2 separate regions of the Homo sapiens genome follow, and region 1 is linked to region 2. Evidence: promoter capture Hi-C in 16 types of primary human blood cells and fetal thymus (Javierre and others, 2016). All regions are on one chromosome and are shown on one strand. The core of a region is centred on a gene start or on the middle of the fragment in contact, and the rest is flanking DNA. Distances in the headings are between cores, read along the strand shown. Region 1 overlaps MAPRE3 (microtubule associated protein RP/EB family member 3). Region 2 holds the start of TCF23 (transcription factor 23).

Evidence for each region. Contacts are between HindIII fragments. The CHiCAGO score rates a contact against its expected background, and 5 or more counts as called.
Region 1: a fragment that was not itself captured here is called in contact with the fragment with the promoter of TCF23 in region 2 in 1 of 17 cell types (naive B cells); the score reaches 5.2 in naive B cells.

What each region holds. Positions count from the first base shown.
Region 1 is chr2:26,976,416-26,981,286 of GRCh38, reverse strand. All of the region lies in intron 1 of MAPRE3 (microtubule associated protein RP/EB family member 3), which reads right to left. Among named protein-coding and RNA genes, the nearest start is that of MAPRE3, 8.2 kb to the right of the region's middle. The HindIII fragment of the contact is 2,833 bases long and covers 1,222-4,054 here.
Region 2 is chr2:27,146,498-27,151,154 of GRCh38, reverse strand. It overlaps TCF23 (transcription factor 23), which reads right to left and starts at 2,151. Exons shown (of 3, transcript NM_175769.3): 1 at 1,800-2,151; 2 at 790-1,032. The coding sequence starts at 2,021. The HindIII fragment of the contact is 12,568 bases long and covers 31-4,657 here.

The DNA of each region.
Region 1 (4,871 bases), core at 1,389-3,888, 170 kb after region 2:
TGAACATGCCAAGCAACACCCATTCCTGGTGCCCGTCCCCACTCACTGCTGCTTCTCTGGCCAGAGGACTTTAAAGACTCAGCCCATTATGAATTCATAGGTCCAATGCAGCATTCACAATAAGACCTTTATTCATCTCTCATATGCCCAGACTTATTTCTCACTGTGGGTAATTCAGACCTTCAAGAACTCAATTCCCCACCAACCCTCTCCCTCCCCCACCTCAGCAAGTGGCCTTGGCTCTATTTTACTAAAGAAAGAAAGGTCTTTTCTTAGGAGGAACCCCAGTAATCTATCCTGGACTTCACCCTAAAAGTCAGGGGTAGAAAGAGCCATGCCCTCTTCTCTTCAAAGGAACCTTTCCCTGGGATCCTAAAGATCATTCCTTTTTGCTTTATTTCTCTCTTGTCTGTGTACTATTTTCTTTGGATAACTCCTTTTCCCTTCTGCCATTAAACATGCTCAGACCTCCTTCTTATAAAAAATGATTCTTCGTCAATACCAAACTTTTACTCTAATTGAAAGTTGGTTAGATCACCATGAAGAACGTTGTATAAAAAGCTTATTTAAAAAATCGTACCCTTTGCACCTCTGTAATTCACTTTATGGAATATACCATGAATAAATAATCCACAAAAGAAAAAAATGTCACTTGTACAGTAATGTTCAAATCAGAGATATTTACACTTGCAAAATACTCCAACTGCCCAACAACAGATTGAGGTTAAGCATACTGGTATCAATATGATGGGATACCACCAAAGGAATGAAATATGTGAAGTTACAAATATATGGATTATGTCAATATAGAGAAGTCTGCAGATGAAGCACATTTTAATACACAAAATATATTTTAAGAACCACATACTACAATTTTATATGTTTGCTGATAAAGAATAGAATTATTTTACAAAAATAAAATATTTGATTCGATTGCTTCTTCTGGTTACTACTTTCTTTCCCTCCCTGCTGCCATTCTCTGGTGACCAGCCATTGCTTCTATTTTTCTCTGTCAATTTTCCCCTTAAACCACTCCAGTGTTTTACTGAATGGATACCCTAAGCAATCATCATGACTGCCTTCTAGTTAAATCCTTAAATCTAGTTAAATCAGCAGCACTGAAACTCTCTTCCAGACATTTTCTCTTCCCTTGCTGCTGAATCATCCTAATTTCCCACCATCTTGTTCCTTTTTTCCTAACTATGGACAGTTCTCAAAGCTTATTACTTGGGGCTCTGGTCTTTGTACTCTGCATGCAAGACCTCTGGAGAGATTCCTTTGAGGGAATCCAGCCCTCCTCTGTGCTGCTGACTCCCACTCTACAGCTCCATCCACAACCTGACCCTCAGCTTCCGGTTCTATGAGATCACTCAACTTGGATGTCCTGCAACCCACAGTCACGTTGTTTTTAGCTCTCTGTGTCTAAAAAGCAACTCCTTTCCAAACTGTCTCTTCAAACTTCCTAATTTCTGGTTAATGTCACCAATATTCTCCAAACTCAAAACCAGCACACATCCTCAGTCTGGTAAGGCTGCCCTGCCTACAAACCCCACCACACCCCTTCCCACGGCCATTCCTTTGCTGATGCTGTACCTTGCCTCCTGAAAAGCCCTCTCTGGTGTTCTGTCAACTCACAGCCTGCTCATCCTTGAGACAAGGTCAGGTTCTGCTTCCTTTGTGAAGTCTTGTCTTTTTTTAATAGAGATTGGCCCTTACTCTGCCACCCAGGCTGGAGTGCAATGGCATGATCATAGTTCACTGCAGCCTCAAACTCCTGGGCTCAAGCCATCCTCCTGCCTTGGCTTCCCTAGTAGCTGGGACTATAGGTATATGCCACCATGCCCGGCTAATTTAAAAACAATTTTTGTAGATGGGGTCTCGCTATGTTGCTGAGGCTGGTCTTGAACTCCTGGCCTCAAGTGATCCTCCCCCCTTGGCCTCCCAAAGTGTTGGTATGACAGGCGTGAGCCATTGCACCTAGACTGAAGTCTTTTCTGATTACTCCAGTTCACAATGATTATTTTCCTCTCAGCATCCTTTTGGAATTTAGACTCTGTAGTACCAGTGACACCCAATGCACTGTTCTTTTCATTTCTTTTGCCTCTCTTCCTCAGCTGTCCTCTGATGAGTCTCCACATCAACCTGCACACCCAGCTCCAGTGTGTCTTCATCTCTGAAGTCTTTCTGGTTCTCACAGGCTCAGGGTGACTCTTCCTTCTGGCTTACCAAAGCACCCTTTCCCATAGCTGATAAGGTTCCATCCCCTCATGTTACAGTGACATACAGTTTTGTGTCCAACTCTTTTGCCAGAATATTAGCTGAATTCCTTAAGGGCTGACACTGTGTCTTATAGAATAAGGCACCAAAGATGTGTTTCTGACATGCAATATTGTCATATGCACTAATCATTCCATATATCCATCTTGTCTTCCACACACATTACAGCCTCCTCATGGACAAGGGTTGAGTCTCATTTCCTTTATATCCCATAGTGACTAACAATACAAAACAGAGAAAGGGCTTGATGAAGAATACGTGCTGAGAGCATGCTTACATGTCTTGTGAAGATGATATGCAAATTTATATGAATAATCTGTAAACCTGGGAACTATACTTTTGGGGTAATAGAAGTCTTATCAAGTTGTCTCAAGACACTGTACCTTGCTATTTTGGGGCCAGCATAACACATCTCTGTACTTAGCAGTGATCCTGTCACTTAAGAGTGTTAATAGGATGCCTAAACTGAGAGCTTTCAGCTATGAGCTCTAAGCATCTAAAATCAGAACAAATCAAGGACCAAATCAGAGTCCCAGGTAAGTGTCAATAACCTTCAGGGAAGCGGGTGGGGGTGGAGGGTGGCTGGCTGCCAAGAGTCTGGTGCTGCGGAAAGGCCTGGCTACACAGCACACATTATGCCACTGGAGATAAGCCTGCGTGAAACACTCCTCACATGGGAAAGGTATCTAATTTCATCTAGTGGTCTAAGACCTGCCCCTTTCACATGGCAACACACACCTTAGACCCAACTATGATCTTGCTGACTCAGAAGCAGTTAAGATTTCATTTCTTACCAGTCAGAGAACACCATATAAATTACAAGGTGACCAGGACCACAATGCCCTCAAGATAAGATGACTGTTTCTCCCACAATCACTCTCTCCGAGTGGTGGAGTCTCTCCAGCCAGCCATACCCAAAGACTTGCTCACTAATAATTCCAGCAGCAGGGAAGGCCTCCACCCCATCTAGGACAAGTATTTGGGTAGCCAGACCATTTGGAGGAAGAGGCAGATCCTGCTTAGCAAACATTTATCACAGCACAGTTCGAGCTATGTGACAGGCCATATGTTCTTCAACTCGAAGTCCCGGATCCTCAGGAGGAGGCCAAAGTGCCCCTTTCTCAGTGCTCAGAGCTGGGCAGACTCCACCACTGGTTGAAGGCAGGTATCAGTCCACTGGACTGGGCCATCTAGGCAATGTACAGTGTGTGTGTGTGGATGGGAAAGATGAGGCCAGAGGACAGCTGCCCGGCCAGGCCCTACCAACACAGTCAGCAGCTCCATGGACCTGGTGTGGCACAGGGGGAGTGGCCTAGCCTATGTCTACATAGGGCTCTGCCCATCGGGTGGCCACAGGTGGGCACCCAACCCTCTCTATCCCTGGAAGGAAAAAGGGCCTCTGAGCTCATGGCTGAACGGAAGGTGACAAAGGGCAAAGGGAGGAAGGCAACTGTAGTGGGCCTGGGCAGAGTCTTTTGAAACAGACAATTCAGACAGGTGCACATCCACACCAAAAAATGAGCAAAACCCTCAAAAAAGGCCCCTGGAACACTGGAGAACTGGGAATACAGAGAATCTGAAAAGACACCTGGGAAAAGAAGGCCACCCAAAACAGAGCCCTGTGGTATACAAGGTTTTACTAAAACCTTCCGATACATGTAAACAGTAAAAGGAAGAGGCAAAGAAGACTCTAAAGATTGCTCTACTACATGGAATCTAGAAGTCACTGGTTTTAAAATGTCATAATTAAGTTATAGTTGCTTAATGCAGAAAAGCTTAGAAAACACCAACAAGCACTAAGGAAAGCCATTCGTTTTTAATCCCATTACTCAATCACTTATGACTTGGCACATGCTCTTCTAGTATCTTTTTCATGTTTTTCTTTATAAATATGGTTTTTTCCTTGGCATACTATTTTTCATCCTGCTTTTTTCACTGATATTAAAAGTTCTGGTATTAATATTCTTCTCCAAATGTTTTTAATGCCATGCAGTATTTTATTTGGGCGAGCCTGACCAATCCTCAGTTGCTGGCACTTTTGGTTGTTTTCAATGTTTGATATTACTAGTAATGTTGCATTAATAAATCTTTTACAATTATTTCTGTACACACCTCTGATTTTCTAAATATTGCTAGAATGGCACTTTCTGGTCTAAGGATATACATCCTTTTAAGCTTTTTTATATATAGTCAAGCTACAAGGCAGATTTGAAGCCATGCTTCTTGCTCAGTTATTTTAAATGTATCACACAAGTGGTATGTATCTCCTATATCTAGGAAATAGTTTCAGGGAAAAAATCATTTTGCATGGAGTTAAAGCATTTTAGATAGGACAAGTCCTTATTTACTTGAGGCAAATGAAGCATCCAGAGCCTAAAACACTGACGTTATGCTAAAAAGTTGACTAACAACATCTGGTCAGTTTAGCAAAGCTGGTAGGGCATGGTGCTAGTGAGTGCAAGATCTAGGCTTATGCTAGTATTGGCCAGTCAACTCTGTGCACAAGAAAAACCATCCGTGGCCACAGCATGCTTCACGAAACTTGGCTAACTGTCACACGAAATTGTACTCTTGGCCAAAGGGAAGACTGGGTG
Region 2 (4,657 bases), core at 902-3,401:
CCGCTTTCAGCCTCATAACCTCCCTAAGCTTCAGTTTCCTCATCTGTAAAGTAATCCTCATTTGGTTTTTGCATGGATTAAAAGACAAAAATACACTAACGTACTTAACCCAGCTCCTGGCCTATCTTTAGCACTCAACTGTTAGCTGTTATTGCAAAGATGATTAATGTTCATTAGACTTTCCATTTTGTACTCTGGAAGAGAAGTAAGGCTCATGTTAGCTTCTATTTTACGTGTAATAAAACTGAGGTTGAGAAAAGCTAGATTGCAGTCTGGCAAGTGGTGCGCGCCTTCCCTGTACTGCTGCCTGCTAACTCCCCCAGCTTGGTTGCTTCTAGAATGACGGTCCCTCAGACCGTTGTTCTCCTGGAGGACAGACCTCTCTTGCAACAGAAGCCTAGAAAGCACCAAGGCAGGCACAATGGGCTGAAGCTGCATGGGGATCTAGGACTCTCCTTGGTATAATTTCCTTTCCCAGGCCCCAGACTTGGAACCTGCTACATTTTTCCCTGTGACTCTAAGAACCCCAGAGTCTTTCCCTCCTCTTCAAGGAGGTGCATTCCCATGAAGCCATTTCCAGCCACACTCCCATGAGAAACCCAGGGTCAGCGCAGCCCCAAGGGTCAGCCTTGGCTCCTCTCCCTCTGAGACAGCAGGAGAAATTGGCTCCGACGTCAGTTCTGCACAGGGCAGGGGGCCCAAGTCCAATGTCCCCCCTCATTCCAATCCCTTTCTCCAAGGCCCTGGGCATTAAGATCCGCCTCTCAAGTCCCAGGGCTTGTGACTTACCTTGAGAGGGTGCAAGTAGCGGAGTCCACGCAGGAAGGGCGGCCAGGCAGGGCCAGGCAACTCGTGGCCGAGTGTGCGGGTGAGGTGGGCTATGTAGCTGGCGGCGAGCACCAGCACGTCCAACTTGGAGAGCTTGGTGTCGGGCGGCACGGCAGGCAGAGCAGCCTGCAAGGCCAAGAAGGCCTGGCGCAGCGTCCTGACCCGGCTCCGCTCCCGCGCGGCATTCTCAGGACTGGCCTCGCTCTGCACAGAGGGCCCCAGTGAGTGTGTGTGACCTGGACTCCCAACTGCCCTGACTTCTGAGAGCGTTTGAGCACAAGGTCTCCCACCAGAGTAGAAGGGTGTCTAGCAGTAGGCACCAGAGGGCCTCTGCCCACCTACGTCATCTGCAGCCCTGCCGCGTTTCACAGCTGAGGAAGTTGGGGGAAGGCCTGGCCAGGGGTCAGATGGCTGCAGGATGGCAGAGCTTGGCTCAGAACCCAGAGTCCTGTGTTCTCTCTACTACTCCACTCATGCCTCCTCAGAGCCTTTGTCCTGTCCCATGCCCAATCTGAATCCTGCTTATCAGGGTGTGCTGGGGCCAGGGGGAGTTCAGAGCTACACCCTGTTTGGGAGGGCGGACCCTTGACCTAGCCAGGTCCTGAGACGACGAGGCTGCTGTGGGAAAGAGGAAAGACACAGAACCAGGGGTCAAAGCACACAGGCTGAAGTCCCAGTCCTACCACTGGCTGCTGCTCAGTGACCTTGGGAAATTCACATCCCTCTTCCCGGCCTCAGTTTCCTCAAGAGAAGTGAGTTAGTGCAGCTCTCTGAGCTGCACTCTGGTTAAGACCAGCTCTGATCTATCCCAACTACCCAAAGCATGATGCCTTGGAGTCTAAGGGGCCAGTGTCCCCTCTCTTGGGCAGGAATGGTAATACTGAGTGAGGCTGTACCATCAGAGGTGACATCTCCCCACCTTCCAACCCCTTCCTCCCCTGGACCCCTCTGCAGGTGCAGGATTTCCTTACCCTGCCAAGAGCCAGGCCCCCAGCCCTGGTCCCTCGAGGGCCAGGGGTAGCTCTGCTCCATCTCTGGTTGCTCCAGCTTCTTTCTTCCCACGGGTCCTGCCTTGTCCTGCTGAGGCGGCTCCTCTTCCTGTCAGCGCCTGGCAGCAACCGTGCTTTGGCCTGAGTCTGGCTATGCCCCACCCCTGGCATGGCTGGTGGCCCTCTGGCCTTCCTCTGTGACATGCCACCCCACTGGGGCTGCAGCCCACAGAGCAGAAACACAGTGCCTGAGGAGGCCTTGGACTCAAGCTAGCTGGCTGTGGCTGGTCATCCAGCCAGCAATATCTACATCCGAGGAAGCTGGCGCCAACTCAGTCCTGTTTGCTCCCTGCTCTGGGAAAACCGCCCACCAGGCACAGCCCCCGCGAAAAGCCTCCGCCTGCCTCCTAACCCAGCTGAGAGGTGGGGGTGCTGGATGCTGGGAGTGGCCAAGCCTTGGGAGGAGGCCCATGCTGAAGAAGGCAGGAGGATAGTGGGGAAGGGAGCTCCTTTCCGGCCATGCCTAACCTCAACAGTGGTCCTATGGTGGACCTGTGACTTCCGCTTTGGAGCTCACGTCCATGGAGAGGACTTGAACCTCCTTCGTCTGTGCCAGAAGGCTGCCTGCATACATCCCTGAAAGGCCTTTCCTCCCCTTGCCAATGAACGTGACCTTCCAGCCACAGAGCGCGATTTGCCATGCCCCAAATATGCCTCCGATTTCCACTCTGTGTTTAAATTTACCTTTCCACGCCCCAGAATACCTTCCTCCAGCTCTGCCAGGAGGTACTGCCCATCCTTCAGGTCTCCGCCTTTCATTCGTGAAGACTTCAAATCCCGCAGGCCCAGAGCCCATGGGTCCCTGTTTGATTGGTACAATCACAGCCTGGCTACTTTCCCAGAAGTTCGATATTCATAGATTACTGTGTGCCAGGCACTGTGCTAAGCATCTTATTTATTTCTCAGAGCAACCTTTTAAGAAAAAAAGAGACTCAGTTTAGATGTGTGGGAACTGGTATACTGGGAGGTGAAATAACTTGCCCAATGTCAAACATCCGTTAAGTGGTGGGGTGGGATGAAAATCCAAGCCGTCAGTTGGACTTTGAAGGCTACCCCTCACCTGATGCTAGCCTGCCTCCCATGGGTTACTCACGCGTCTGTCCCCATGCTAGACATGAGGTCTCTGAAGGCAAGGACCATGGTGTTCCTGAGTTGCATCACATCCTCCAAGAGCTAGTTAGGAGAAGGCGGGCTGAAGGAATCGCGAATCTGCCACAGCAGCCCCTGCTGTCTTCCAGGGACCTCTGCCTGTAGCAGAATCCAGCCTGATGTCCCTTGTCCCCCATTCTCGAACCTCAGGGGAGATCAAATAAGTAAGGAGAAAGTAAAAAGGTGGATGTACAGTGAGAAAGATATGCAGCCCACCACAGAGAAAGGGAAAAAGAGGCCGGGCGCGGTGGCTCACGCCTGTAATCCCAGCACTTTGGGAGGCAGAGGCAGGTAGATCATGAGGTCAAGAGACGGAGACCATCCTGGCCAACTTGGTGAAACCCCGTCTCTACTAAAAATACAAAAATTTAGCTGGGTGTGGTGCCACGTGCCTGTAGTCCCAGCTACGCGGGAGGCTGAGGCAGGAGAATTGCTTGAACCCGGGAGGCAGAGGTTGCAGTGAGCCGAGATTGCCTGGGCTCCAGCCTGGGCGACAGAGCGAGACTCCATCTCAAAAAAAAAAAAAAAAAAAAAAAAAAAAGGAAAGGAAAGGAAGGAAGGAAGGGCCGGGTGCAGTGGCTCACACCTGTAATCCCAGCACTTTGGGAGGCTGAGATGGGCAGATCACGAGGTCAGGAGACTGAGACCATCCTGGCTAAGATGGGTGAAACCCCATCTCTACTAAAAATACAAAAAAATTAGCCGGGCGTGGTGGTGGGTGCCTGTGGTCCCAGCTACTCAGGGGGCTGAGGCAGGACAATGGCGTGAACCTGGGAGGTGGAGCTTGTAGTGAGCCAAGATCGTGCCACTGCACTCCAGCCTGGGCGACAGAGCAAGACACGGTCTTGAAAAAAGAAGGAAGGAAGGAAGGAAGGAAGGAAGCAAAGAAAGAAAGAAAGAAAGGTAGGTAGGTTAGTAGAAACAACCTGCATGTCCATCAGTAGGGAAGTCGTTAAATAAATTTTGGCATCTCCATACTATGAAATAATGTACAGTAATAAAAATAATGACAGCCCTTTGTTAAATGACATGAAAAACTCTTCAAAACACACAGTTGTGAAAAAAGCTAGTTGTAGATCAATATATATAGTAAGACCCCAGCCACGTAAAAAAATACACCAAAAAATAAAAAATAGAAATGTAAAGTTTTATGTGCTTATGTGAACATATAGAAAGGAGATGGAAAAGATGTGCATCAGGCCGGGCGCGGTGGCTCACGCCTGTAATCCCAGCTCTTTGGGAGGCCGAGGTGGGCGGATCACCTGAGGTCAGGAGTTCGAAACTAGCCTGGCCAACATGGCGAAACCCTGTCTCAACTAAAAATACAAAAATTAGCCAGGTGTGGTGGCAGGTGCCTATAATCCCAGTTACATGGGAGGCTGAGGCAGAAGAATTGCTTGAACCCGGGGGCGGAGGTTGCAATGAGCTGAGATCACGCCACTTCACTCCAGACTGGGCAGAAGAGCGAAACTCCATCTTAAAAAACAAACAACAACAAAAAAAACCCCAAAAATTATCCAGGTATGGTGATGCATGCCTATAGTCCCAGATACTCGGGAGGTTGAGGCAGGAGTCGCTTGAACCCAGGAGGTAGAGGTTGCAGTAGGCCGAGATCGTGCCACTGCACTCCT